Regions from separate parts of the Homo sapiens genome. Here region 2 is linked to region 1. The links are contacts of gene promoters, found by promoter capture Hi-C in human tissues and cell types (Jung and others, 2019). All regions are on one chromosome and are shown on one strand. The core of a region is centred on a gene start or on the middle of the fragment in contact, and the rest is flanking DNA. Distances in the headings are between cores, read along the strand shown.

Region 1 (3,476 bases), core at 977-3,476:
TACAAAACTTTAAAGTCTGGTCAAGCTGGTTCCTTTGGCTCTCCACCGCAGCTCCTAAAGGTTGCCAACTCCCATGTCCAATCTGGCTCAAAGACAGCACAATCATCAAAAGAGGAGCCCCTAGAAACCTGGGGCCAGGTGAAACAATGAGCCTTCATTTCTAAACATGAGAGTGGGTCACGCTTTCAGAATCCTCCAAGATCAGACTGGGTAGAAACAAAGGATATGTTATTTCTTGAATACTTCTTTAGAGAACCAACGCCAAATAAAGGAGCTCAAACTGAAGGATATGACGAGAATCTTCTGCTTGGTAAGGTTAAACATCCAGACACACATGGAAGGTGGTGGGCTCTCAAGCCCCAGAGAAGATGATCTATGTGACTGGAAGCAGATGTGTCTGCTCAAGTTCCTGACAAGGTCTAACTACTGCAGCCCCACAGCCCACCAGGGTAGTTATCAATCTGATACCTCATACTATGCCTGGGCAAAGGGAACAGAGCTCTGGGATTGCCGTTCCTCCTGGATACAGAGGAAATTAAGCTCCCAGGGAAAAAGAGGGACAATTTGGATTCCCTAGATTCAGAAAAGAACAAAGAAAAAAGAGGGAGAAGAGACTCCAAGAGAACATGTTCAGTGACCAACATCAGAGGCACATTCAGTTGGCCAAAGATTGTCAAAGAGATATGAGAGAAAATCAGCAGCTGTTTCAAGCCACCAATAATAAAAGGGGACAGATGCCCGCCAGCCCCAGGGCTATCAGGCCAGCAATCTATTTCAAAACTCAAACGGGAAAAAAAAAAGTTCTGGAGCCAGTACACAGAAAAAAGGTTGAGGACCACAAGTATTTTCTGGAGCACAGCTTCTGGAGAATTCTCTTAGTCCTTTCGGATGGAGCACAGGGTGGAGGGTGGGAGTGAGGGCAGAGAGAGGCTGGGGTATCATGGTATAAGTGTATTCCACACATCCAGAGTGGAAAGACACAAAACCCCGGTTCCTGGAAGGGGAAAAGAATTGGACAAAGCCTCCGGCTACCCGTGGCACACATCCAGCTCAGCGCCGTCTCCCCCAAGGGTTCCTGGAAGTCAACAGCCCCATAAAGGGGAAGTATTAAAGCTGAGATAAGAAGAATGGCCTACAAATTGGACATCATCTCTGATGCAACACCCACGTACATTCTCCCACACAATCTGTTATTTCCTTTAGTCAATCAGCCTCTTAATTCGATCAAGGTCTGAACACCTCCACCCCCACCCCATGGTTATGTCAACTGCAGGTCAAGTGAAAGTAGAGTAGAGTGTGGAGCTAAGGCTTCTCCCTGAAGCAGGGGAAAGGAACAGGGAGAGAAAAGGAGGTGGGCGACAGGAATGTAGGGGACAGAATTGATACGAAGGAAATCGGAAAAAGGAGCAAAAACAGGGCCTCTCAGGGAACCAAGGTGAGAGTCTTAGGGAGACAGGGACTGCAGGCACGGAGTTGGAAAAAGCCTAGGAACACCCTGGGGAAGAGGATGGGGACCCATAATACTAGGAGGGATCAGACCACAGATAAGAAGGGGACAGGGATGGGGAGAGAGAGTAAAGCCTGAGAGAGCAAGGATGGGAGGATGAAGGCAGGAGACAAGGATAACGAGGGGGACAGAGGAAAAGATCCCAGAGAAGACTCTCGCTAGATAGGGCAGTGGATTCAGGAACACCAGAAACGGGTGAAGGAAGAGGTCAGAGGCAGGGGAGGGGAATGGGAGAGGCCCCCGGGCCTGAGACGGGGTTCTCACAAGTGGGAGAAGACGAAGCCACCAGGCCCAAGAGGGGGCAAAGAGTAGGGTGGAAGGAGGCCCGTATTTCGGACTCACTCAAGCAGCTATGGGGGTCCAAGGGCGGGGGGGCGCAGGGTCAGCGGGGCGCCTACATGGCAACGCACGACGGCTGACCGGAGCGGGCCGGAGCATCAGGAAGCCGCCGTGACGCTGTCCGCGGACCCCGGCAGCTCCCCGCACCCCGTTCCCCGCCGCCGGGCCTTGCGCCCCAGTCCCGCTGGCCGCCTCGGCCCAGGCCCGGCGCTTCCCTCCGCCACTTGCCTGACCGCTTCTCTCGTCTCGGACTGACCTGTCCCGGCTGCCTACGGCGCCACCGCCGCCGTCCCGCAGGCTCCGCAGAATTCTCCCGCTCCTGCCAAAACTTTTCCCATTAATCCCCAGGTCCGCGGCGGCCGCAGCGTCACACGCTCCGCGGCCCGGCCCCGCCCCCGCCAGCGAGACGTCACCGCGCTGCTCGGCCTTTCCCTCCCCACGCCCCCTTCCGCCCGGCGGCGGCCAATCACCACGCCTCCTGGAGACTCCCCTAATTCTGCCTCTCCGCCCACCGCACGCTGCCCCGGGCCAGCCTGTGGCGCCCTCTGGTGCGGGATGCGGACGTAGCAGCTAAGGGAGGAGCAGGGGAGCGCCAGGTCCAGTAGAACAAGTCCAGCAAGTGACACAAGAGGGAATTTAAAGCTGGAAGGGAATTTCTAGGTCATCTAGTGCAACCTCCTCATCTTCCAGTGAAGAAACTTAGTCCTAGAAAAGGTACGTGACTTGCAGTGACAAGTCTGGAGAGACTCTTAACCCAGTGCTAGGTCCACTGGAGGAGATCATATCGCCTATAATTTTCAAAAAAGGGCTTTCCGCCTTCAAGAGGCTTCTACAACTGGAAATTTACGGTCTTAGAGTTCTTAACCTTTCTTCCCATGTGCTTATGCAATACGCTTATTCACCTAAAATAGGGGACATCCTCCTTATTGTTGTAGAAAATTCTGTTCTTATTAATCCACATCTTTAAGACCTGGAAGGGACCTATTATCCCAACCTACCGCTTAAGATGTACCACAGGAAACTACCTAGCAGCTGGGAGGCAATCTGGTGGAAGAAGTTGGCTTTCATCTGACGATGAACAAAGCTTGACTCTCAGGTATATGACCAATGCCTCCCCTCCATCATCATTAAAGATGACCCCTCCCCTCTCCTTCGGCCACACCTTCCGTAGGCCGCAAGCTCCTTAGGCCACACCTAGCTATCTGGATGAGTGATTTTTTTTTTTTTTTTTTTTTTTGAGACACAGTTTCACTCTGTCGCCCCTGCTGGAGTGCAGTTGCGCAATCTCAGCCCGCTGCAACCTCCGCCTCCCGGGTTCAAGCGATTATCCTGCCTCAACCTCCCAAGTAGCTGGGATTACAGGCATGCGCCACACGCCCAGCTAATTATTGTAATTTTAGTAGAGACAGGGTTTTGCCATGTTGCCCAGGCTGGTCTTGAACTCCTGGACTCAAGTTATCCTCCCACCTTAGCCTCCCAAAGTGCTGGAATTACAGGCGTGAGCCACCGTGCCTGGCAGGGATGAGTGATTTTTTCCCCCTTCTTTCTGCTTCTCTTTTTCTTTTTCTTTTTTTTCCCCTACTTTTTGAAATGCTTGTGCATTATATTTGTAACTTAGATGTCAACCTCC
Region 2 (3,514 bases), core at 375-2,874, 230 kb after region 1:
CTGAAATTTACTAACACACTAGTTTTTTATATTTGTCCTTGAGAGCAAGATAGCAGCCCCCTTTCCAAACAAAACAAATTTCATTATCTCTAGGTAGGGGGGCAGGTTGGTACATATCTGTTAACTTAGAACATGGGTGAGTAGAGTGCAGGGGGAATTTTCTCCCTGAAATCTGTTTGCCTTTTCCCTTATCAGTGTCTTTTCCTGCTCACAGATCAGCGGATCCATTTGTTTCTCAAATGCTGTTTGGTTCTTGGTGTGCAGCGGTCTCTATTAGACCTTCCTGGAGGCCTTACTCTCATTGAAGCAGAACTGGCAGAACTGGGCCAAAAGTTTGTCAACTTGACACATCACAATCAGCAGGTGTTTGGTCCCTACTACACTGAGATCCTAAAAACCCTCATTTCCCCAGCCCAGGCACTGGAAACAAAAGTGGAGTCTGTTTGATAGCGTCGGCTCAGAGCCCTGGTACCTTGGACCCAAGAGGAGGCCCATCATCTTCCTGGAGTAACATCACCAGTGACCAGCAGACAGTGAGCTTCTATCCCAGGCCCTGCAGCCAGTACACCAAGGCTGTAGGGATCAAGCATGTAAACACCAACTGGTCCATACCCATTCATTAATAAACTTCTTAAGTGCAAGAAATCCTCCATTTTTCCTGTGCTGCAGCTGAGGCCAAGCCCTAATGACTTCAGCCCTCAACTAGCTGAGAAGCCAGCAAGCCCTCAGTTTTCCCCTCTCTGGCTATGTGTACCTTTCAACATATAGAGCTGAACAGCCAAGATACCCAGGTGCTAGCCTTATTTTCTTTAAGGGTAAAGCATTACTCCTGGGGAGCTCTTAGACCTCTGGAATTATCCAAATTGTGAATATAAGGGTTTCTTTTGGAAGCCTTTGTTTTGTCCAGTTCACCTCAGGAGAGGACATGGTTTAGGGAAGTTAGTTCATTTCTAGGACCAAATTTCCCTAAAGGTTTCAGAGAATGCAACAAGAAGTCAAGGGATATTAAGAGCCTTAGTTTCCTCTTCTGTTGCATGGTCTGAAGCAATATGCATACCCGGGGCTGGATGAAAATGGATATTGGCTACAAGCAAGCATTCTGTTGAGGACAAGTTCAGAGTTCATGGGACCTCTCTCTCAAGTTATCCAGAGTTCAGACTTGGACAGTTAGGTCTGTGACTCACTTGTATCAAGTTTATTCTGGTCCTGTTCTCTAGCCCAGTAAGTCTCCTTTCCCTCATCTCTAAGCTTAGAACACCCGGTTTTTCCAGGCAGAGGTGATGTGGGCATTCAGAGGTGGAGCAGCCTCCATCCTTCTGGCTTCTCCATTCTGGGCAGTTGTGGTTGTAAGCTGTTGTTGGCATCACAAATAAGAGAGGTTCTAGGAAGGATTTGGGCTTGTCTCCTGAGATTGTAGAGACCAACTCATTTTCAGGCTGACTGCAGCAGACCAGCTCCAACCTAGTATGGCTGAAATGAAGAAAATGTTCAGTTCAGATTTAGAAAATGGAAATTCAATTATGTGTTCTCAAGGCAAGGTGAAGAAAAACAATGTTCTCATCATTTTAGGTGATGGAAGTTGCTGAGTGTTAACACACCTAATCTAGGAAGAACAACAGAAGGGGGATTTGAGTTCCATTAGGCCCAGTGTTTCCTTCTAATTGATTTCCTTTTTTAGAGGGTAGATCCTAGGTAGGTGACAGAGCTAGATCAACACAATGTGACTTTTACTATGACTAGAAAAGCTGGAGGGCCTGGATCATTTGCATTTTTCGTCTTATAACTAGACAGCTTCAGGATGGGGAAGCCCAGATAAAGTGGTATGTTTAATAAACAGTGAGGCTTGCCCAGTTGGATTCTCTGATTTGTAACTATTAATTTGAATTTTTAAAAAATCCACGTTTTGGAAACCTCATTATTTTAGAGGTAAAAGTACTCTGAAGGGATTCCTGGGAAGAAGATTGTCCAGTTGGCAGGTGCAGACCCTGGACTGATAATAGAACCTTGCTTTGTACTTCACAATTAAAATAGGGACTCATCAGTACCTTAGAAAATTTGAATTTATTTTCTTATGCTTTCTCATGGAGGAGACAGGGATCTTGTCCCTAAACAAGGAAAGATAGCTCCATTCAATCCTGCCCACTGGTTTGAGGGAATTTTAAAAAAATGTATATTTGTATTTTAAATTGTGGAGAAAATACATGTAATATGAAAGCTATTAGTGACATTGAGTACATTCAGAATGTTGTACAGCCATCACGACTAACTAGTTCTAGAACATTTTCATCACCACCAAAGGAAATCCCATTCCAGTAACCAGTCACTGCCCATTTTCCCCCATTCCCTTCCCCTGGCAACCACTAATCTTTCTGTCTCAATGGGCTTTCTGACTCTGAATATTTCCTATAAATGGAATCATATAATATGTAGCTTTTTGTGACTGGCTTCTTTCACTCATTTTTCAACATTCATTTGTGTTCTAGCATGTATTGGTAGTTCATTCTTTTTATAGCTAAGTAATATTCTGTCACATGAATATACCACATTTTGCTTATCCACTCATTAGTCCATGGGTATGACTTCAGCCCTCAACTAGCTGAGAAGCCAGCAAGCCCTTAGTTTTCTCTTCTCTGGCTATGTGTACCTTTCAACATATAGAGCTGAGCATTTTGGCTTTTGTAAACAATGCCACAGTGAACACTTGGCGTTATTTACAAAACTCATACATAAGTTTTTGTTTGAACACCTGTCTTCTATGTTTTTGAGTGTCTACCCATATATCCAGGAATAGAATTGCTGAGTTCTATGGTAATCCCTGCTTAATTTATTGAGAAACTACCATTTTGAGTTAGTATTTGTATATGGTGTAAGGAACAGATCCAGCTTTATTCTTTTGTATGTGGACATCCAGTTTTCCTAGCATTATTTGTTGAAGAGACTGTCCTATTCCCATTGATGAATGGTCTTGGTCTTTGACTGTTGTCAAAAATCGATTGACCATATATGCAAGGGTTTATTTCTGGACTCTATTTTATGCCATTTATCTATATGTTTATCCTTATGCCAGTAAGATATTGTTTTGATTACTGTAAGCTTTGTAAGTTTTGAAATTAGGAAGTATAAGTTCTCCAGCTTGGTTGTTTTTCAAGATTATGTGGCTATCCCTTCCATTTCCATATGAATTTTAGGATCCATTTCTGTAAAACAGGAAGTTGGAATTTTTGATAAGGAGATATATATATATAAATTTGGGGAGTATTGCTATCTTGTCTTCCCATCCATGAACACAGAATGTCTTTTCCTTTTGTTAGGTCTTTAATTTCTTTCAGCAACCTTTTATAGTTTTCAGTGTACAAGCCTTGCACTTCCTTGGTTAAATTTATTCCTAAGTATTTTATTCATTTGGATGTAATTGTTAATAGAATTGTTCTCTTAATTTCTGTTTCGTATTGTGCATTGGCAGTGTATAAAAGTAAAACCAATTTGTTTGTTGATCTTGTACCCTGCAACTTCA

Evidence for each region. The method cuts DNA at HindIII sites, captures the fragments that hold promoters and counts their contacts. A contact is called where the count stands out against the background at its distance.
Region 2: a contact is called between a fragment that was not itself captured here and the fragment with the promoter of PPARD in region 1, in 2 of the 25 tissues and cell types used here (aorta and liver).

Annotation. Positions count from the first base shown.
Region 1 is chr6:35,341,308-35,344,783 of GRCh38, reverse strand. PPARD (peroxisome proliferator activated receptor delta) reads right to left here and starts at 2,226. Exons shown (of 8, transcript NM_006238.5): 1 at 2,103-2,226. RefSeq lists silencers at 1,765-1,814, 1,845-1,984, 2,165-2,374. The HindIII fragment of the contact is 18,171 bases long and covers 1-3,476 here.
Region 2 is chr6:35,115,202-35,118,715 of GRCh38, reverse strand. TCP11 (t-complex 11) reads left to right here. Exons shown (of 10, transcript NM_001370687.1): 10 at 215-641. The coding sequence ends at 447. Among named protein-coding and RNA genes, the nearest start is that of TCP11, 24 kb to the left of the region's middle. The HindIII fragment of the contact is 6,471 bases long and covers 1-3,514 here.